7 separate regions of the Homo sapiens genome follow, and all the other regions are linked to region 5. The links are contacts of gene promoters, found by promoter capture Hi-C in blood cells and fetal thymus (Javierre and others, 2016). All regions are on one chromosome and are shown on one strand. The core of a region is centred on a gene start or on the middle of the fragment in contact, and the rest is flanking DNA. Distances in the headings are between cores, read along the strand shown. Region 1 overlaps SEC22A (SEC22 homolog A, vesicle trafficking protein). Region 2 overlaps IQCB1 (IQ motif containing B1). Region 3 has its middle 3.8 kb from the start of SEMA5B. Region 4 holds the start of PDIA5 (protein disulfide isomerase family A member 5). Region 5 holds the start of WDR5B (WD repeat domain 5B). Region 6 overlaps GOLGB1 (golgin B1). Region 7 overlaps IQCB1 (IQ motif containing B1).

Region 1 (3,134 bases), core at 294-2,793, 790 kb after region 5:
TGGGCAGGTAAGGATTAATTTAGTCTCTAAGATACAATATTTTTGGAAAAATGCCTGTGAGATTTTTATCAGATTTTTGAATTTTCACCAGTTGCCTCACCACTAGTGAGGAAGCCTTTAGTGACATTGTGCTTTGATGGCCTGACAGAGAAGAGTTATCACTTAATCTTAGATAGTGAACATGTTTTAATTTAATGTTTTAAAAAGTATGGGCCTTAGACAATAAGCAAATTGTCAAGCCCTATCCCACAGTCAGTGGTTCAGAATTTTGAGGGCAGAGCTCAGAAATCTGCATTTTTAACTAAACTTTCAACTTCTTATGCAAGCTAAAGTTTGAGAGCCACTGTGTATTTTATGAAAGGTTGAGTGACTGTTGACCTGAGTTCCTTCAGACTCAGGCCTGTGAAGTCCTTTCATCTGTTTTTGTAAAGCAAGAAGAGAATCCAATAAAATAGGCCATTAAGATTTACTTTCTGGTAAAAAGATTGAGAACAACATTAAAACCAATATTCCTTTAGCTTTAGGATTTATTTTAAATAATTTTTTTCTGATTATAAAAGTAGTATATGTCTACTGTGAATATTGAGAACATTTAGGAAATTATAAAATAATAATAACCAATAATACCATTTCTTAGAGGTGAGCATATTCTTAATTTGGCATCTTTTTCTGCATCCGTTTTTCAATCCCTTTTTCCTTCTCTTTATCTTCGTCTCTTTATCCTTATGTTTGTGTAAAACAACATTTGCAATTTTTATCCTACTTTTTTCTCCTTAACATGTAAGCATTTTACCACATTATTAAACTTTCTCCACAAACATAACTTTTAGTTGCTGCATTATATTCTGTTATATGAATATACTATAATTTACTTAACCATCACCATTTTATAGGATATTTAGATTGCTTTCAGTTATTTGAGTGGAAGAATGTCTTTCTGTTTAAAATTTTGCCTGGATTTCTGATTATTTTTCTCAAGACAGGTATATATTTAAATTTATTGAGGTTAAAAGGTATGCCTTCAGACTCTTGTTGAAATTGCCAAATCATTTTGAGAACTGTTTGTACCAGTTTTTACTTCCATCTGTACTTATGAGAATGCCAGACAGAAGTATTATTTTTTAAAAAGCTAATGTGGCTGGGTGTGGTGGCTCATGCCTGTAATCCCAGCACTGTGGCAGGCGCCTATAGTCCCAGCCACATCCTATGCTGTGGCATGGGAACCCAGGCTGAGGCATGAGAATTGCTTGAACCCTGGATGGGGGATGTTGCAGTCAGCCAAGATGGCGCCACTGCACTCCAGCCTGGGTGACAGAGCAAGATGCTGTCTCAAAAAAAAAAACAAAAAACAAAAAACAAAAGCTATATGTTAAGTGAAGCATAGTATGTTGTTTTAATTAGTTTTTTGTTTTTTTTTTCCTCCTGAGACGGAGTCTCACTCTGTCGCCCAGGCTGGAGCTCAGTGACGCGATTTCGGCTCACTGCAACCTCTGCCTCCCGGGTTCAAGCAATTCTCCTGCCTCGGCCTCCTGAGTAGCTGGGATTACAGGTGTGCACCACCACGCCTGGCTAATTTTTGTATTTTTAGTAGAGAAGGGGTTTCATCATGTTGGCCAGGCTGGTCTCAAACTCCTGATCTTGTGATCCACCCTCCTCAGCCACCCAAAGTGCTGGGATTACAGGTGTGAGCCACCACACCTGGCCATTTTAATTACTATTCTTATATTACTAGTAAGTTGAACATTTTTACATATGCTTATCAAGTTTGGCTTTAATTTTTATGTAACCCAAATTGTTCATTTTGTTTTAGGTCTTCTCTGTTGGTTGAAATGTCTATGATTTTATCTGCCTCAGTCATTCGTGTCAGAGATGGACTGCCACTTTCTGCTTCTACTGATTATGAACAAAGCACAGGAATGCAGGAGTGCAGAAAGTATTTTAAAATGCTTTCGAGGAAACTTGCTCAACTTCCTGATAGATGTACACTGAAAACTGGACATTATAACATTAAGTAAGACTTCAGTTTGCTTCATTTGACTCATTTGCCCAGTAGTTGTCATTTTAATGAAGTTTAAGTGGTTGCAATAGAAAGGAGTGATTAGGAAAACCTGTTCAAGTCGAGCATCATATTGTTCTGAACTTATACTAAATAGTCATCATGTCAGCAGCAGCCTTTTTGTAGTTTCTTTGTATCTGGCTCTGGGAAATTTTATAGTTGTGCAGATCATAGATATCCCTCTTTTAAGTTGATCACTAAATATTTATTTGCATTCTTACATACCTAGGGTTGTAGTAAGCAAACTATAATTGGAAATAAAAATTTTTTACCTGATATCTGCCCTCAAAGAACTGAAGCAACTTACGTCTAGTGGGAGGGGGTAGCACTTATCACTGAGTCACATACAAATCAAGTAAAACTGGGCAATGGGATAGAGAGTGACTATTTATTGTGGTCAAGACACTCTCTGAGAGGGTGACATTTGAGCAGAGACCTAAAAGATGAGAGAGGAGGTAATTATATGAAGGATGCTGTGGATGAAGAGCAAGGCAGAGGTAGCAGCCAGTGGAGAAGCCCTTTTTTACATGCCAAGAGACAGAAAGAAAACCAGTGATCCTGAAGAATTATGGACAATTAATAGAGTTGCAGAAAGTGAGGCCAGAAAGGTAGGAATGGGGCAAGTTATGTAGTGAGTTTGGAGTCTATTAGTCTGTTTAGTCTAATGCAGTAGGAAGCCATTGGGTAGTTTTAAGCTATAGAGTTACATGATTTCATTTGGCTTAGAGTAGATCATTCTGCCTGCACTGTGAAGAATAAAGGAGGAAGTGGAAGCAGAGAGGTCAGATGGAAGACTCAGAGAAGTTCAGGTGGAGGTGCTGATTGTAACGAGCTAGGGTAGTAATGAATAGAAGTAGTTAGATTGGGGCTATATTTTGGGATTAATACCAGCAAATCTTCCTACTGGATTGAAATAGGATGTGAAGGTAAAAGAAGAATAATCACCTGTAGTTTTTTGGCCTGAGGAACTGGATGAATAATGTAGCTGAAATGAGCAAGAAAGGAGAGGATAAGTGCGTCTCCTTGGTAAAAAGTAAGAGTTCTGTTTGGACATGTTAAATCTGAGATGCCCATTAGA
Region 2 (2,890 bases), core at 221-2,720, 600 kb before region 5:
TATCCTAGGAATATTCTAGGACAAGTGCTGACTTGAATATAACAATGGAAAAAAAAAAAACCCATAAGAAACGTCACATTAGAGCAAGAATCCTTTTATCCTTTTAGTTCAGGAAGCTACCTTTGCCAGAGTTTTACCTAAAGATACATCAGAAAGGGCATGGTAATTCTCATTGTTGTCAATCCCAAAAGATAGTGTTGTACTCTTAGACTTCCTACTTTCCTTAAAATGCACATTAGATAATGTCACCCACAAATTCATGGTTCTTGAGGCAGGTTAACAAAATTTACCTTTAAATCGAAATTCTCACATATACTCACACAAAACCACTTTGTATTTTAGGTCAGAACGTGTATGTCCCACCATATGATCTACTAACTATGTACTATCTAATTAAAACAAAAATCTGATTGAAAAGCTCCTAGGTAAATAGACTAATAAATTAATTCAAGTTTTTGCCACATCTTTTTTATGCCCCTGTTTTAATTTTGCCCTGTGGTTAAGTGGCCTTACTTTTTCTGTAGCCAATTAATTCTTGGATAACATTAAAGAATCTTTATCTCAATAAAAATACAATAATAAAGGACAGAAAAATATTATGAAAAGTATTAAGGATTCTATAAATGAAAATAATTAACTGAATAAGTATATTTATAATGAAAGTAATATACAAATACATAACATATTAATACATAATTTTAATAATATATAAGGAAAAAGAATTATTAATGCTCTTAAATAGGAATATTAAATAAAGGTGCTTTGAAGAAAAGATAAAGCTTACATAATGGTCTGAGCTATTAATGGGACAGAAATTATTTTACAAATGAGGAAAATGAGATACAGTGAAATCCAGTGATTTGCTATAGAACCTAGAGTTAGTTTGTGGCACAGCCAGCAAAAGAAATCAAATCCAACACAATTCCTATAGTTTATGTGGCTTCAACTAACCTGAATTAAACTAAATCTAGCAAATATTTATTTAGTGCTAACATCCCACAAAATGCCAGTGGAGATATCAGAAATGGAATTTGTAACCTGTTACATGGAACACATATGCTCTACCACTGAGTTAAATTCTCTGCCAGGGGGATCTGGCAAGATGGTTGAAGAGGAACAGCTCTGGTCTGAAGCTCTCAGCAATAGCAATGCAGAAGGCAGTGATTCTGCATTTCCAACTGAGGTACCCAGTTCATCTCATTGGGACTGGTTAGACAATGGGCGCAGCCCACAGATGGCAAGCAGAAGCAGAGTGGGGCATTGCCTCACCTGGGAAGTGCAAGGGGCTGGGGACCTCCCTCCCCTAGCCAAGGGAAGGGAGGGACTGTGCTATCTGGCCCAGATACTACGTTTTTCCCATGGTTTTTGCAACCCACAGACCAGGAGATTCCCTGTGTGCCTAAACCACCAGGGCCCTGGGTTTCAAGCACAAAACTGGTCAGCTGTTTGGGCAGACACTGAGCTAGCTGCACGAGTTTCTTTTTGTACCTCAGTGGTGGCTAAAACCCCAGCAAGACAGACTGTTCACTCCCCTGGAAAGGGGTCTGAAACCAAGGAGCCAAGAGGTCTTGTTCAGCGGGTCCCACTCCCACGGAGACCAGCAAGCTAAGAACCATTGCCTTGAAATTCTCGCTCCCAGCACAACAGTCTGAAGTCGACCAACCTGGGACAACTGAGCTTGGTGGTGGGAAGGGCATCCACCATTACTGAGGCTTGAGTCGGCAGTTTTCCCCTCACAGTGTTAAGGAAGCCACTGGGAAGTTTGGACTGGGTGGAACTCACTGCAGCACAGCAAGGCAGCTGTGGCCAGACTGCCTCTCTAGATTCCTCCTCACTGGGCAAGTCATCTCTGAAACAAAGGCAGCAGCCCCAGTAAGAGGCTTATACATAAAACTCCCATCTCCCTGGGACAGCGCACCTGGGGACAGGGGAGACTGTGGGTGCAGTTTCAGCAGACTTAAATGTTCCTGCCTGCCAGCGCTGAAGAGAGCGGCGCATCTCCCAGCACAGTTGATATACTGAATTTGAATTTGTTAGTGCTAGAGCTCTGCTAAGGAACAGAATGCCTCCTCAAGTGGGTCCCTGACCCTGTGCCTCCAGACTGGGAGACACCTCCAAACAGGAGAGCTCTGGCAGGAATCAGGCAGGTGCCACTCTGAGACGAAGCTTCCAGAGGAAGGAGGTGTGAGTAATATTTGCTGTTCTACAGCCTCTGCTGCTGATACCCAGGCAAACAGGGTCTGGAGTGGACCTCCAGCAAACTCCAGCAGACCTGCAGAAGAGGGACCTGTTAGAAGGAAAACTAACAAACAGAAAGCAATAACATCAACATCAACAAAAAGGACACCCACACAAAATCCCCATCCAAAGGTCATCAGCATCGAAGATCAAAGGTAGACAAATCCATGAAGATGAGGAAAAACCAGCACAAAAAGGCTGAACATTCCAAAAACCAGAACGCCTCTTCTCCACCAAATGATCGCGATTCCTCCCCAGCAAGGGCAAAAACTGGACTGAGAATGAGTTTGATAATTAACAAAAGTAGGCTTCGGAAGGTGGGTAATAACAAACTCCTCTGAGCTGAAGGAGCATGTTCTAACCCAGTGTAAGGAAGCTAAGAACATTGAAAAAAGGTTAGACAAATTGCTAACTAGAATAACCAGTTTAGGAGAACATAAATGACCTGATGGAGCTGAAAAACACAGCATGAGAACTTCATGAAGCATACACAAGTATCAATAGCCAAATTGATCTAGCAGAAGGAAGGATATAAGAGAATGAAGATCAACTTAATGAAATAAAGTGTGAAGACAAGATTAGAGAAAGAAGAATGAAAAGAAATGAACAAAGCCTCCAAGGAATATGGAACTATGTGAAAAGACAAACATAC
Region 3 (3,374 bases), core at 584-3,083, 620 kb after region 5:
CTCCATGTTATAAAGTGGAGAGGGGGTTTGGGGGCTTGGCACAGGAAGGGAAGAGAGGAGACTCCAGGCTGGGGACACAAAGAGGGAAATTTTCCTTTTCAGGGGAAGCAGGAGCCAGGACAAGGAGGCACCCAAAGAGACAGACCAAGTAGCAGGGCAGCTAGCAACATTGGGCTAATTAATCCTAATTGCATCCTAAAGCATTGTATTGATTAACAGTGATTACTCAAGAGCTCTCAATACAAGAGAGCTTCAGAAGCCCAACCCTCCGGAAGAGACAGTTTCTTTACTGGCCTGGCTTACCACCTGCTCTTTGGCAAACCCAGCCTGGTTAGAATCTCTGAATCATTTACTTGGAACAAAACCTGGAGCATTGATTCCATCACCACAGTATCACAACCAGCTTCTGCCACCTTCCTTAGACCTTTGCAATAACCTATAAGATAATTGCTTCTGTTAGGAGCAATTCTTCTTCTACCGAAACATTGTAATTAAGCAGAATGGAAATATAGTAATTAACACAGTGTTATCTCAAGCAAACAAGCTAAAGAGCGGTGAATATAGGGGGTGACGGAGTTTTTAGGATTCACTCTTGACCTAGAAATTCCAAACTTATCTTGAACTAAGGTTGAAAGAGTTTAAGAAATAGATCCAAATTCTCATGCTCAAGAGCAGGAAAGGGTGGAAAAGCTAGGAGCACAACACTGTCTTCTTCCTCCCACCTGAGGGCATTTTCTGGGAGATAAAGCTAAAAAATGAGTGCAGGCTCTCCCAAGAGGCCATCTCTCTCTCTCTCTCTCTCTCTCTCTCTCTCTCTCTCTCTCTCTCTCTCTCTCTCCCCTCTATGTGTGTGTGTGTGTGTACACATGCTTGTGCATAGCCCAGGCACAAACACAAACCTTGTCTTGCAGCAAAAGGCAAACAGCCAGTCATATACTAATAGGAGACAGAGAATTGAAAATAAAAAGACAGCACGTATAATGTCCAAATTGTTTTCTGCTCCCAGAATTGCCTGCTCATTGTGCCTGGGGATGGCAAAGAAAAAAGAAAATTCCCACCCCAGAAGTCATTGTCAATTTGTGAACCAAAACCTTGCTCAGGTCAGAGGAACTGAAGTGTCACTGAATGACTGCTTTGCCATTGTCCTGAACTAATGTGAAAGAAGAGATCTTCCTTCCTTCCTTCCTTCCTTCCCATTTAAGTGTCACTCACTAAGCTAGGCAGAGAGGTCATAGGAAGAGCTTCACAGGCAGGCAGGGGAGGCAGACGTAATCATAGCAAATGCAAGGACTGCCACAGGATGGGAGCTCTGCGGGCACATGGAGAGCCAGTTACCATCCTACCAAACAGGACAAAGAAGTCTTCATTGGAAATGGCCATTCTAGCTGAGAATGGAAGATAAGGCAGGAATTTGCCAGACAGAGAAGCAGGAGGAGGCAGAGTATTCCAGGCAGAGGAAGTAGCATGTATAAAAGCACAAGGCGATATAATTAGATTTCTGTTTGAAGAATTACTTGCCCCTGGTTAACAGATTCAGAGAGAGCTGAAGCAGTAAATGTGAGCAGGTGTTTCATGTGGTGGAAAGAGCACCGCACCAGCAGTTAGGGCTCCCCAGTCCTAGGATGAGCTGGGCCACTGATGAGCTGAGTGTCCTTGGACAAGCCTCTTAATCTCTCCAACCTTAGCTCCTCCTGGATAAAATGAAAGGGGTTGATCCACTGGTTTGTAAGCTTCTCCTTGCACATGTATTCTATGATTCTGTCTCTACCTGAAGATACTTCTTTAAATCCTGCTCTACATTATGCTCTTTACCGTATTTGCACACTTGTTCCTTTCCTTGTGTATAGCACTTTACAGTTTACAAAACTATTTGCCATATACTATCCCCTTTGACCTTCACAGCCATGTGAGGGAGACAGCTACACTGAAGACCTAGATAAGCTTGTCCAGTCACTGGCTGTAAACCTCTCTGTGCGGATGATGCCCAAGTTTGTATCTGCAGCTCCGGCCCTCTCGCTCTCTCTTAAAATCTGGATGTATAGAACCAACTGCCTGCCCCTCCTCTGCATGACCATCTAAGAGACATCTCTATCTTAACATACCCAACACTTAACTTCTGATTTGTTTTTCCAAGCCAGCTCCTCCCTCAGTCTTCCCCATCCTAGTAAGTAAAAACTCCATTCTTCCAGTTCCTCAAGGTCAAAAGCTTGAAGTCATTTCATACCCTCCATTCAGACCATCCATAAATCCTGTCGTCTCTATCTTTGAAATATTTTCAGAATCTTACCATTTCTCCCCACCTCTTCTACTTGTGCCCTAGTTCAAACCACTCTCTTCTCTCCCCTGGATGTTTGCTCTGCCATTTCTAACCTTTGTACCTACAGTCTGTTCTCCACACGGAAGCTGTCCTAATTCAGATCCTATCACTCCTCTGCTCAAAAACCTTCTATGGCTCCCCAGCTCTCTAGAGAAAAAGCCTTAGCAGCCCCACAAGGCCTGTCTGACATTATCTGCTAGCGCTCTCCCTATCCTCACTTCTCTCAGGCTTCCCCAGCCTCTCTGCTATTCCTCACACACCCAAGGCTCTCACCTCAAGGCCTTTGTACTTGATGCTCTCTCTGCCTGGAAAGCTCTTTTGCCAAATGTCCACATAGGTCATTTCCTCACTTCCTTTAATCTCTGCTCAAATATCAATTCATCAGAGATGTATTACCATCTTTTCAAAAATGACAAATACTTGTCATTATCACCATCTGACATTGTACATATTTATTGTCTGTCTCCCCTGACCAGAATATAAATTCCACAGGAGCAGAGGCCTTGCCTGCTTTGTTCATCACTATAGCCCCAGCTTACAGAACAGGGCTTGGTTTTTGTTTGTTTGGTGGTTTCTTTTAAAGGTACAAAATAATGATTTAATAAATGAATGATTATTATCCTCATTTTACAGATAGGAATCAGGGATGCAATTGGTAATTTTCAGAGCTAGGCTTGAACTGAGATTTTTCCATATAAATTTTTTTCTCCAATTGCTTATTAGTTAATATTTATATTAGCACTTAAAAACTCTTTAATAGAAAATGTATATTATAGTAAAACATGCTAATTGTTTTTCAACCCAGTTAACCACCTGCAGCATTCCAAATCACAACAGAGGGGAGAATTAGCTCTGAAACCCACAAAAAGTGTTCATCAATCCCACATACACGCAATTTTTCTGGAACCATTTTTGTTCCCTGTGTTACATTTCTAGTTTTTCTTCATACAGTCCTAAGTCAAGGGTGTGGTGAGAGATTGGGAAGGCAGGCTTTGTAGCTTGGCCTCGGGCTGACACCCAGGGGTAATCACATCTCTCTTCCTGAGCACTCATAAGC
Region 4 (3,019 bases), core at 467-2,966, 650 kb after region 5:
GCAGGGCCCAACCTTTTTGTCACCAGGGACCGGTTTTGTGGAAGACAAGTTTTCCACAGATGGTGGGGGGACAGGGGATGGTTTTGGGATGAAACTGTTCTATCTCGGATCATCAGGCATTAGATTCTCATAAGGCACCCACAACCTAGATTTCTTGAATGTGCAGTTCACAATAGAGTTCACACTCCTATGAGAATCTAATGCCACCACTGATCTGACAGGAGGCAGAGCTCAGGTGGTAATGCTCGCTGGCCCACAGCTTGCCTCCTGGTTCCTAACAGGCCACAGACTGTCCAGAGGCCCAGCGTTTGGGGACCCCTGCTTTAGCACAGGGAATGGGTTCAATAAAGAGTTTTTTTCTTTTGAAAATTTTTACTCAGGTAAAATTCACATAACATCAATTAACCATTTTAAAGTGTACAGTTTAGTGGCATTTAGTACCTTCACAATGTTGTGGAACCATCATCTCCATCTAGTTCCAAAATGTTTTATCACTCCCAAAGGAGTCCCTATACTCATTAAGCAGTCATTCCCCATTCCTTCCTCCCCACCCCCACTACTATGCTTTCTGTCTCTGTGGATTTACCTATTCTAAATATTTCATAAGATGTAATCACATCATATGTGACTTTTTGTGTCTGGCTTCTTTCATTAGCATACATTTCTGAGATTCATTCATTGTAGAATGTATTAGCATTTTATTCTCTCCCCCCCACCTTTTTTTTTTTTTTTTTTTTTGAGACAGGGTCTCACCCTGTGGCCTAGGCTGGGGTGCAGTGGCATGATCTTGGCTCACTGCAGTCTCCATATCCCAGGTTCAAGCAATCCTCCCGCCTTAGCCTCCCAAGTAGTTGGAACTACAGTCCCTTGCCACCACACCAGCTATTTTATTTTATTTTATTTTTATTTTTAGCAGAGATGAGGTCTTGCTATGTTGCCCAGGCTGGTTTCAAACTCCTAGTCTTACACGATTCTGCTGCCTCAGCTTTCCAAAGTGTTGGGATTACAGTCATGAGCTGCCCTGCTGGGCCACTTTATTCCTTTTAATGGCTAAATAACATTCCATTAGATGGATGTATCACACTTTGTTTACCCATTCATCCTTTGACAGACGTTAGAGTTGTTTCTACCTTTTGGTTATTGTAAATAGTGTTGCTGTGAACACTGGTGTACGTGCATTTGTCTGAATACCTGTTTTCAATTCTTTTGGGTATTAGCCTAAGGGTGGAATTGCTGGTCATATAGTAATCTATGTTTAACTTTTTGAGGAACCACCAGATTGTTTTCCAACAGCTCAATAATGTTTTACTGAAGTTAAATAGAATAAGCAGGAGGGAGTCTGGGAGGCAGGGATGAGGGCTTTTCCTGTCCTTCACAGGCAGCCCTGGACTCTGCCATTTACCGGCTGTGTGATCTGGATCAACGTACTTAAATTCCCTGCGCTGCCTCCTAATCCTCAAAGTGGAGAAAATAAAACCTAATTTCTGTGAGCTGCGTGAGATACTGTTTCTGAAGCTCCAGGCACAGAGTAAGCCCCCGCTCATTAATTGCCTTCCCTTACTCCCTGACCTTGCCTTTTCGCACTTCACTCGCTGCCACGTGGCCTCGGAGCCCAGTCCGCACCCGCAGCCCCCAGCTGAGCCAGGCTGCAGACTACAACTCCCAGCGAGCACTTCTTCCCGGCCGCCTCTCCCCAGCTGCTGCGCATGCTTTGGCAGACGTGGCACCGGGAACTCGGAGGCGGGGAGCGGCTGGGAAGTGGCCGTGGTGGTTGGCCGCGGTGGAGCTAGCAGGCGGGCGGGCGGGAGCGGGCGCCGGAGTGGAGAAAGGAGCCAGCGGTGGGCAGCGCTGCTGGGATGGCGCGGGCCGGGCCGGCGTGGCTGCTGCTGGCAATCTGGGTGAGACTGTGGGGCAGGGATCCGGGCCGGGCCAGCACGTGTGTCCCGCGTGCCCTTCTGCGCTCTCTGCTCCAGCCCTCTGCGGAACGTGCGGGGAGCTGCCCCGGGGCACCGGGATGAGGGCGTGCATGCCAGGCAGGCGGGCACTGGGTGCTACGCGGGAGACAGCGGGCGTCCCGGTGCCCTCGCCGCCAAGCGCTCCCGGACGCAGGGGCAGGAGGCAGCTGTGGGGCGCCGGGAGATCCCTGGCAGGGTGCTTACGCCACGGCCACAACTTTGCGGGGATGCAGGTCGGGGCACAGCCGGTCGGGCAGGACGCCGGCGGGCTGCGGGGTGAGCTCCGCTCCAGACTCCGAGCCCTGCACCTGTGTGAGTGCGGGGTGGGATGGGGGTGCTTACTACCTGCACTGCCGGAAACCTTGGTTTAGGGCCACCTTGTTCTTGGCTTCGGCCCCAGGCGTCTGGGAAACTGCGGGCCACCACCTGGGCCTCCGCCCACAGGCCAGGCTCGGTGGGCTGGGTGGGGTCGACGTAGCCCGCCCCGGCGGAGGAGCTGCTCCTACACCCAACTGAGGCGGGCTCGAGCCTCAGCCACTTTCTAGCTGTGTGACGCGGCGGTTCATTTAATGTATCTGAGCTAGTTTCCTCATGCATGATATAGAAAGGCAAAGCTACCCCCATAGGGTGGTTCTGAGAGTCGGATGAGGTCTCAGTGGAGGAAGCTGTGTAAACTGCAAAATCTTACAAAAGTGGAAAAGGAGTGGACTCCAAGAGTAGTTTGCTACACTTGGTGGGGGGGACTCCAGGCATCCCTGAGAGAGGTCGGAATGGGTGTGCCTGCCGGCCCAGGTCTGGGGTTTGGCCTTCGTTTCGCTGTGGGTGTGTGATGAGATATTGTGGCCTCCTTCCCCATCTTTTCCATAACTTATGCGCTCCCTTATTTTAGGACCATCCTGGTCCTTTTCCCCTGAAGTTCCAGGGAACTTCCTGTTCCTGGCACCCTCCCCCCAACCCAGATTTTCCCGTTCTTTTCCATTTGGGTGTGGCAAGGACACTGGGCAAATGGGAGGAGAAAAGTGTGGGTTGAGTTGCTTGAAACACTTCCATCTCCCAATACCCTG
Region 5 (2,891 bases), core at 333-2,832:
TTTAAATATCCAAGTTTTTTGGCCAACTTGGCTCTACTACTTGATTTTCAAAGGGATTAGTGGTTACTCATCCACAGTTTAATTGTTTTGTCATTTTCTAATGCTGCTGATGCGATGAGGTTTTCTGTAGGATGACAAGCTGCTGAGATCACAACATCTGTATGGCCTTGTAATTTCTGCACAATCTCTTTAGTCTGAAGGTTCCAAATGTAAACCAGGTTATCCTCGGAACCAGACACAATCCACTTTCCACCAGTAACTGAAAAATTGGCAAATATGCAATATTTCTCATTCTTATGACCAGTGTATGTTTTCAGGCACCTGCCTCTGCTATAATCCCATAGTTTAAGAGTGTTGTCCAAAGTTGCAGTGAGAATGTATTTACCATTTGGAGAAAATTTTACAAAAGAGACAGGAGGGTTATCGTCATCAACGAGCGTTTTTAAACACTGACCTGATGCAGCATCCCAGATTCTACAGAGGCCATCATAGCTACCTGACACTATCAAGGACCCACTACAATTAAAATGAACAGCAGAAACTGGGTCAGAATGAGCAGACAAAGTCTTGAGACACTTTCCTGTTTTCACCTCCCATATTTTTACAGTCTCATCAAAAGATCCCGAGATTATAAGGTTGGATGGCGGATTGAAGTTACAACAAAAGACATAATTACTGTGCCCCTTCAGTGTTTTCAAACATTTTCCAGATCTCACATCCCATAATTTTAGAGTTTTATCATCTGAGGCAGAAACAAGACGACTGGAATCTGATGACCAGGCAACATCCGATATTTCCAAATTATGACCATAGAGTGTTTTCTCATATTTTCCATCATATGCTCCCCAAATTATGATTAGCCTATCAGCAGAAGAACTTGCTAGCCATTCTCCATTAGGACTAAACTTAACTGATGACACTGCTTCCGTGTGTCCCACAAGAGTACATTTGAGAGCATAGTTTGGGTTTTCAGGCACTTCCTTGCTCTGATTGGCCGATGAGGAGAGGGCCAACTGTGCTTTGGCGTCTCTTGACTCCTTGGTTGCCATGGCTCTGAAGCTCCAAGTTAGCAGGTGTACTAGGCGTTCAGCCCTGAACCAGGCAGTCCAGTACTTTGGCTTTCTGCCCAGCAAAATGAAGATAAACGCACAGGATTTTAAAATGTACAGTTTTGAAAGCTTAAAGTTTCTGGACAGTCTTTAAACTGTGAGACGGAATCAGCAGCACGGCTTGGACTTCAAGTTTTCATCTTTTTGTTAAGTACTTGAGAAATACTGTTAGAAGGATCCTGTGCGCTGTCAGCAAGTAGGACACAAATGTTCGGCATTCCGTTAATACATAAAGCCTTCAAAGCAGGGGCGACGCGAGGGGCACTCTCTACAGAAAGTATTCTTTCACCGCCGCCCCCCTCCCCAGGTCGAAATGTTTCGGAATGCTGAGCAGCCCTACCAGTCAGGCTAGGTACTTGAAGATGAATGAACCGCCGCTTTTAGCGGATTTCAGAAGCTAAAAGCCTACGAAGCCACCGAAACTGGAAACTCTGGCCTGTCGGCTACTTTTGCTCGTACCAGCAGGTGTGCACTGCCGCGTCAATCTCCAACAAAGCCGGAAAAGCAGCCTGGCGCATGTGCAAAGGAAGTCCCTCCTACCACTACCGAGCCGAGATGACCAATGGGAGACGGCCATCTGCGCCTGCGCAAAAAAGTCGCCAATGTTCATTTCCGGTCTTTTTCGCCCCGCCCTTCAAATGCGAAAGCGACTGCCTTCTTGGGTGAGTGCATTAGCTGGGTAGGGTCTGTCCCGGACCTAACTGGATAGTGTGGGAAGCAGTGGATCGTTGTTTCAAAAACCATTTCTTTTTGGAAATTGTCACAGAGAAGGACTAGATTTGCGGATGCCTACCTTAGCTGCAGGCTTAGGCCCACACCTGACGCGTAAGCTGCCTAAACGGCAGCTAACGTAGATCCACCCAGACGCCGGAAACGGGGGAAGCTCCTGCTTTGCATGGGTTCCGCTCCCTCCTGTTTGTTGTGGTGTGGAGCCAGGTGGCATGTGTGGCGATGGAGTCACGGGGCGGGTGACAGAATTTATGCCAGATTGTAAAATTCCTGGTTTAAGTTTCCCCTGGAAAAGTTTCGTAAAGGTTAAGAAACGTGTCTGTTGAGGTCCTTTAAAAGCCGGTGCTCTGCTGGGAGTAACGAGCAAACGTTTGTTTTAGCATCTACGGCTTAAGCTTCCATAGAGAAGTCGGTATCTCAAAGTTGCTTGAAACAGAAAAGGACAAAGAGGTTGGTGGAATAGGGTAACGGATAAGGTTACTCTTAAGGAGGTTTTAGAGAGCTTTCCCCAGTTTTAGGAGATGATTAATGGTCATGAAAGTGTGTAAAATATACATGCTATTGAAGTTGCAACGAAAGACATAATTACTGTGCCCCTTTAGTGTTTTCAAACATTTTCCAGATCTCACATCCTATAATTTTAGAGTTTTATCATCTGAGGCAGAAACAAGACGACTGGAATCTGATGACCAGGCAGACTTTTAAACAATAGGTTTACCAAAAAACTGGAAGCCCTACTAGTTTCTCCAACCTGTTGTTGCTCAGTAAAGAGTGCCCGAGGCCGAGCACTCACGCCTGTAATCCCAGCACTTTGGGAGGCCCAGTCGGGCGGGACACTTTAGGTCGGGTGTCCGAGACCAGCCTGACCAACATGGCGCAACCAATACTGCTAAAAATACAAAAATTAGCTGCGCGTGATGGCGCACGCCTGTAGTCCCAGCTACTCAGGAGGCTGAGGTGGGAGAATGGCATGAACCAGGAGGTGGAGGGTGCAGTAAGCTGAGATTCCACCAGTGCACTCCAGCCTGGGCAACAGTGAGACTCCGTCTCAAA
Region 6 (3,362 bases), core at 1-2,500, 700 kb before region 5:
AACTGATGGATGGGCAGAGGGATGAATAAATAGATAGACATTTGATAAAGCAAACGTGCTAAAATGTTAATGATAGAATTCAGATGGTGGGTATACAGATGTTCGCTACAAAACTCTTGCAACTTATTCGAATGGTTGGAAAACGTCTTAACAAAACATTGGAGGAAAAAGTCGAGAATGGGAGAACAGAAGAGACTGGAAAGCCTAGATGCTAGAAACCAAGAGGCAAAAATTTTTATCAGTGGACAGCATAGCCCAGGAATGACAGGACTCTGCTGACCAATATGTTTGTGAGTTTGGAAGGGTATAATCTTACAATGGAGATGACTGAATCTAGTTATCTCAACTTGACATTAGTCAATTAAGAACATCAAACTAACTGCCTTCATTCTGATATTCAGGCTCAATCAGCCTGAATCAGCCTTCGATGATTACAATCTAGCTCTCTACAGAGATTTTTGTAGATGAAAGAAAGAATATACTGGCCAATAAGAAGCTACTTGGCCATTATATACTTTTTTACTGTTAATTAATTAATGGGAACAATATGATTTCCATAGTAGACTTTTAAGTTTGATTAGACTGACTCGTGTTCACTAAACCTGATCAAATCTTAGTTTACCAAAAAAAAAAAAGACTTCCGAACTGGGAAAATTAACTACAGAAGCAAAAGTAATGATTCATCTCCGATACAAATTGTTAAGACCTTAGAATCAGAAAGGCTTCTGAGACCATGGTATTTGTTATCTATTATTTTCTCATTCTTTATTGTTGAAACACTGCATTAATGCCTTTCATGATTCCTTTCAAATAGAATTGTCCTCAAAAAAGTATTTTTTCAGGCAGAAAAAACAGAAGGTTTATATAGCTCTCTGGAATAAATCCTCATTAGAGCACCGAAGTACAGATACAGCAAAGACAAACAGTTAATATTCATAAGAAGTTCACATTTAATTACCTGTGTGCCCTCATTATAAACATCTGGGAAAGAAGTCTGAGATGCTGTTTCATGTTGTTGCAAGGGCAGTCTATTTAGAAATTGGCTAATTTCTTTGGATTTTTGCTGGAGCTGATCTAAGGAAAAGAAAAAAAATAAATGTAATATTTGCTTCAAGTCTGAAATGTAGTTATTATTATCTTCTAAAGATACACTGTATGCTGTTTACTAGTTTAGTTTCCTTAGTTAAAATTATGATGCCAATGACAACATTATTATTAGCTAAATGTTAAATGTTCTCAAGAACCAAAGGACACCTCAGTAAATCACTTCCTTCAAAAGTAAAATAAAATAGGCCTAGGCACTTTTTTTTTTTTTTTTTGATACGGAGTCTCCCTCTGTTGCCTAAGCTGGAGTGCAGTGGTGCGATCTCGGCTCACTGTAACCTCTGACTCATGGGTTCAAGGATTCTCTTGCCTCAGCCTTCCAAGTAGCCAGGATTACAGGCATGCGTCACCATGCCTGGCTAATTTTTTTTTTTTTTTTTTTGTATCTTTAGTAGAGATGGAGTTTCACCATGTTGGCCAGGCTGGTCTCGAACTCCTGACCTCAGGTAATCCCCCCCACCTTGACCTCCCCAAAGTGCTGGAATAGCAGGCGTGGGGAGGCCTAGCCCTAGGCATTTTTTACAAGTTCATTTTCCCTTTCCCCCTTGAAAATGGCTTTAGGGTTTTTGTTTTCTTCACTCTCGACTTAGGTATTATGGATCCCACCAAGATTCCACCACATGGTTTTAAACATCAGCATGCTTAAGAGAACAGCTTGCTCATGTAACACCCTGGTCTTGTGTGATGCCCTTCAAAACTGTCTGGCTAGGGCACAATGGCTCACGCCTGTAATCCCAGCACTTTGGGATGCCGAGGCGGGCAGATCACCTGAGGTCAGGAGTTCGAGACCAGCCTGACCAACACGGAGAAGCCCTGTCTCTACTAAAAATACAAAATTAGCCAGGTGTGGTGGTGCATGCCTGTAATCCAAGCTACTTGGGAGGCTGAGGCAGGAGAATCACTTGAACCCAGGAGGCAGAGGTTGCAGTGAGCCGAGATCATGCCATTGCACTCCATCCTGGGCAACAAGAGTGAAACTCTGTCACAAAAAAAAAAAAACAAAAAACAAAACTGTCTGGCTAACATTCAGTTATTCAATACAAATTTTCAACTTAATTGTTTCTAAAATCTTTCCTTTATGTCTATGTCAATATATTAGTAAAGGTTATAATTTGGGGAAGAGGATTGGTGAGATGGAGTATTGGTGTTGAGGAAGTTTCACTTTTTAATTTATAAAGTTCTAAAATGTTCAATTTTTTATAGGCACATATTACTTTTATAATAACACATTTTTTAAAAGTTTCCTTTATACCTTCATAAAGGATAAATTTTCACCTGTAAGACAAGAAATCAGGTGAAAAGAGATTTTCACCTATAAGAAAAGCACTGAGATCCATCCTTCTTCAGATTTATGGATAACTCCATGCAATTTAGTCTCCTAACCTATGCACCTAGATCTGGCCTGAGTTTTCCAAAAACTAATTCAAATCCTTCTCGTTTCAGTCATTGAATCCTTCAGATCAGTCATATTTAACATAGCATTCTATTTAATATCTGGAACATCACTATCACATTTTTAGTATTGTAATGATAATTATAATATTAAGAAAGATTATAGCCAGTCAGAGGCAAGAAAAATGCATCAAGAAGTTCAGAAGAGCTGTTTTTCTCAGTCCTTCTATTGGTTCAATTGGTTTGAGTACAGATTTCATTAACAGATCCCTGAAAATATGAAATACAAGCCACTCAGATGGTAGAGATGTGGACTTCAAAAGCAATCAGCTACTGACCTTCCAGTTGCTGAATGGTCTGGGCTGACTGAACTGCTTGCTCATTCTTATCTTGGAGAAGCTTTGAATTTTGATCCTTTAGAGCATCACAGGCAGACTGCAGCTCTTGTCCAGTCTTTTGAAGACTCAAAATATGAGAGGTCTTCTCTTCCATTTCTGCTTTGTGCTTCTGCTCCAAAGCACTATACCGAGACTCTAGTTCAGCCTGGGCTTGGCCTGCTTGCTCAAACTGTTCTAAAAGATGATGCATTTCTTCCTGCAGATTATGGAAGGATAATTTTCTCTCTGCCACTTCAAGTTCCATCTTTTCCAGTAGAATCTTGGACTCCTCTCTTTCTGTTTCCACAGTGTTCCTCAAAGTATTATGCTCAGCTTCCATCTGCTGTAACTGCTGAGAGAGAATCTAAGAAAAAAGACAAAGTCTCATGAGCCATAAATACATTATTTCATTTCAACAAGCATTGTAAAGTGCTTTTTCTTATAGGATGGAAAAAAATGGGAACATGTTTCTATGCTAGAGAGAAAGCC
Region 7 (3,084 bases), core at 372-2,871, 620 kb before region 5:
CTAATAGAAGAGCGAAGGTGCTGAACTGGAGAAAACTGAAAATTAAAAAATTAAATAGAATCCAACAGGTTAGAACCGCATTTCAGTATATTCTGGAACCTCAAATGCAAAAATACTGGAAAGGCAACAAACACAAAATGTGAGACTTAAATAATTTTTGCTTCACAGCTTATCTTTTTAATGGAAGTATTTATAACTCTTCTGGTTACATAAAGAAAGCAATGGAATTTCTATTTTAAAATAATGGAATATTAGATTCCATAGATACACTTCTAAGTAGAAAAAAATCTGTAATCCTGGGCTACTTTTAAATAGAGATTTTAATATTGAAAGAGAGAGTATATGAGCAAATTTGGGAACTCTTGTGGGACTAAACATTAATGCTCTGAATCCATGTATAAGGGTACCCTTAAATTTAAGATGACAGGTAACTAAGGATGATAGCAGGTGGAATCCATAAGTAATACCTACTCTATCTGAATTCACCACAGAGGCAATACCAAGAGCACCTCAGATGCTTTGGGTAGAAAAATATACACTGTGACTCAAAAAGTACTCAATATTTCCCAAATTTATCTAACCACAGAAATGCTTTTAAAAAAAAAACAGCTTGTAAGATAGGCAATAAACTTTGAGTAATAATAGATGGATAATACTTGCTTCTCATTAGTACTACCTATTTAATGCATCTATTTGTTTACCTAGATTTGTAAATTTTCAAGGACAGAAAATGTGCCATATGCATTTTTCCTTCTATCATTTTTTAAGTGCCAGATAATATGCTAAAAACTTTGTATTATCTCAAATTTTACATTATCTTGATCATACAAGTGTATAAACTATTATTCTCATTTTATAGATTGGAAGTTTGAGGCTGAGAGAGGTGGGGGATTGTCCAAGTTCACTCAACCAGTAAGCTGCTCAAGTGAGATACAAACTCGAATCTGTTAAATGCCTAGTACATATATCATATACTAGGCATTTGATATATATTTAAAAATTAATTCTTTTCTTTGCTACCAACAATATTCATGCCCAATAATATTTAAAATCCATCTTTAATTCTTCCCTGAAGAAAACGTTCATCAATTAATAGGATACCCACTAAGAGACACAGTTAGCTAGAGTGATTTCAATGTCTTCAACTCTGTGACTACATAGTATTTTGAACCCCAGAGCTATTTTTAAATGTTTTTATAACTGAGAAATGCATCTGCAGTTATTAAAAGAATAGTTTCAGTTTTCTTTAAAGAATTAACTTCTGTAAAATGCCAGTTTCATTTTAGCAAACTAAAGCTTGGCTTTAAGTTAGGCTGCATGAAAAAGTCACCTCTGAAACAGATCTTCTTTACCATAAATTACCTAGAAGCTAAGTTATTTTTTCTTGTTCTGTGACCTTGGAGGATCTGGATTGGTTAAGTCATTGCAGAAAGTGGGCTATGTCTTCAGTATTTCCTTTTCAGTCTACTTGAAATAAATGCCGAACTATATCATAATTCAATGAAGATATCCATCCATGCCATATTTATTCAGGAAAATCAGGTTAACAGACTTAAACTCTTATACGCATACATGTTATTGTTATAATTATACACACGAAATTATGATAACTGTTGGTTTAGAGGGTTTAATAATATAACTATCATTGGCTCCCTTTGTAGGCTTGGCCCCTCCCCAAATATCTTATTAAGTGGATAGGATTGCATATTTGACACATCAGATTCCTGTCTTACATCCTTTGCTTTGAAAGTGCATCTGGTTACTGGAGTGTTGGTACCCAGAAACGTATGGAAAAAAAATGAAAAGATAACAAGAAACATACTAGGAAATTAAAAAAAAATCACCTAAATTTCAATTCAACTGTACTCTAGTAAGATTCTATGATCATCAATCCCCTCACCAAATTTTTTTACCTGAAACTCCTCTGCAAAGCAATCACAGCAGATGGAAGCTTCTTTAATCTCTTTCTTGTCTGAAAACCCTTCCAATAGGCTTGAATCAAGCATGCTGCTTGATGTAGTTTCTGAAATGCCGAAAATAATTTAGAGATATCTCTAGGAAGGTCTTTAAAAAAAAAAAAAAGTTTACCTCTTAAAGTATCAGGTTAGGGCAAATATTAATCTCTAGCTCTAACAAGATGGGTAAGAATATTAAACCTTACCTCCCAAAGGAGGTATGTTAGGCTTGGTAAGGCAATTTCTAGAACATACTCAAGATATAGTCTAGTTAGCTCCAAATTCTCCCAGAATAATCTCACTTCCATTTCCTTTTCAAAGATTTCATAGTCCGCCTGACCTTTCATAATCTTTTTTGAGCTAACATGTTAATGTTTTTACTTAATAGGCAATCAACCTAGTTAGGTTCAAACTATAAGCTCTGTTGACCATTGTGGATGGTTGCTCGAATCTCTGTTTAGTTCTGTAAGCTTTTGATATGCTATTCTCCTGATAGACCATTGGGCTTAAAAGGTCAGTGAGCTGTCTGAGTTCTTGACTGAATTCTGTCCCAGTCTCCTGTTTACTTAATAGACTTCTGAGTCCTCAAATGGAATGGCAAAGGGTACAACTATTAATAATAAAATATAGTTTTATGATTTTGTTACCTAATCAATATGAATTTGAGCATATGCATAGTTTTGAGATTAATCTAAACTCACGATGGTTCATATATACAGAAAAAAGGAATTCCCTTCTTCTGCACTCTTCCTTCCAGCCTCCCCCAACCCATTCTCCTGCCTTACTGGACTTATTTTCATGGTTTCTGCTTGTATTTTTAAATTTATTGTCTTTTTGGTTTTGGATTTTGGATATACAATGTCCCCTTTTCCTTTTAAATTAAAAAATATCTTTAGTCATTTTAGATGTTTTCCATATTTAAGTCTTTATCTGGAAATCAGAAAGCAATATGCCTCTTCCTGTTGAATGGGCTATTTAGAGCCATCATTTTGAGTATGCTAGAGGAAGTATGATGAAATAATCAATAACTTGCTGCCTCAAATTTCTAAATAATTTTATTAATACCATTTCTTACACAAAGGAAAAGGCATTATTGTTGTATCTCAAAGAACAAGAAGGGTAGCCATAG

What was found. The method cuts DNA at HindIII sites, captures the fragments that hold promoters and counts their contacts. A CHiCAGO score of 5 or more calls a contact.
Region 1: a fragment that was not itself captured here is called in contact with the fragment with the promoter of WDR5B in region 5 in 4 of 17 cell types (naive CD4 T cells, fetal thymus, total CD4 T cells and 1 more); the score reaches 7.6 in naive CD4 T cells.
Region 2: a fragment that was not itself captured here is called in contact with the fragment with the promoter of WDR5B in region 5 in 2 of 17 cell types (total B cells and naive B cells); the score reaches 6.0 in total B cells.
Region 3: a contact is called between a fragment that was not itself captured here and the fragment with the promoter of WDR5B in region 5, in 1 of 17 cell types (total B cells). The highest score is 5.4, in total B cells.
Region 4: the fragment with the promoter of PDIA5 here is called in contact with the fragment with the promoter of WDR5B in region 5 in 1 of 17 cell types (erythroblasts); the score reaches 5.4 in erythroblasts.
Region 6: a fragment that was not itself captured here is called in contact with the fragment with the promoter of WDR5B in region 5 in 1 of 17 cell types (neutrophils); the score reaches 5.3 in neutrophils.
Region 7: a contact is called between a fragment that was not itself captured here and the fragment with the promoter of WDR5B in region 5, in 1 of 17 cell types (naive B cells). The highest score is 5.9, in naive B cells.

What each region holds. Positions count from the first base shown.
Region 1 is chr3:123,207,389-123,210,522 of GRCh38, forward strand. SEC22A (SEC22 homolog A, vesicle trafficking protein) reads left to right here. Exons shown (of 7, transcript NM_012430.5): 2 at 1,811-2,011. The coding sequence starts at 1,830. Among named protein-coding and RNA genes, the nearest start is that of SEC22A, 7.0 kb to the left of the region's middle. The HindIII fragment of the contact is 3,274 bases long and covers 1-3,134 here.
Region 2 is chr3:121,809,898-121,812,787 of GRCh38, forward strand. All of the region lies in intron 5 of IQCB1 (IQ motif containing B1), which reads right to left. Among named protein-coding and RNA genes, the nearest start is that of IQCB1, 24 kb to the right of the region's middle. The HindIII fragment of the contact is 1,387 bases long and covers 778-2,164 here.
Region 3 is chr3:123,029,841-123,033,214 of GRCh38, forward strand. No RefSeq gene overlaps it. Among named protein-coding and RNA genes, the nearest start is that of SEMA5B, 3.8 kb to the left of the region's middle. The HindIII fragment of the contact is 211 bases long and covers 1,729-1,939 here.
Region 4 is chr3:123,065,309-123,068,327 of GRCh38, forward strand. It overlaps PDIA5 (protein disulfide isomerase family A member 5), which reads left to right and starts at 1,717. Exons shown (of 17, transcript NM_006810.4): 1 at 1,717-1,898. The coding sequence starts at 1,857. RefSeq lists a silencer at 1,772-2,011. The HindIII fragment of the contact is 10,820 bases long and covers 1-3,019 here.
Region 5 is chr3:122,414,480-122,417,370 of GRCh38, forward strand. It overlaps WDR5B (WD repeat domain 5B), which reads right to left and starts at 1,583. Exons shown (of 1, transcript NM_019069.4): 1 at 1-1,583. The coding sequence starts at 1,049. The coding sequence ends at 57. It overlaps WDR5B-DT (WDR5B divergent transcript), which reads left to right and starts at 1,727. Exons shown (of 3, transcript NR_125405.1): 1 at 1,727-1,771. RefSeq lists enhancers at 1,128-1,327, 1,563-2,380, 1,598-1,837, 1,868-1,917, 2,078-2,277 and 1 more. The HindIII fragment of the contact is 1,055 bases long and covers 1,177-2,231 here.
Region 6 is chr3:121,713,903-121,717,264 of GRCh38, forward strand. It overlaps GOLGB1 (golgin B1), which reads right to left. Exons shown (of 22, transcript NM_001366282.2): 9 at 2,835-3,237; 10 at 959-1,074. Among named protein-coding and RNA genes, the nearest start is that of GOLGB1, 34 kb to the right of the region's middle. The HindIII fragment of the contact is 3,286 bases long and covers 1-2,893 here.
Region 7 is chr3:121,793,544-121,796,627 of GRCh38, forward strand. IQCB1 (IQ motif containing B1) reads right to left here. Exons shown (of 15, transcript NM_001023570.4): 10 at 1,914-2,023. Among named protein-coding and RNA genes, the nearest start is that of IQCB1, 40 kb to the right of the region's middle. RefSeq lists an enhancer at 1,414-1,463. The HindIII fragment of the contact is 655 bases long and covers 1,295-1,949 here.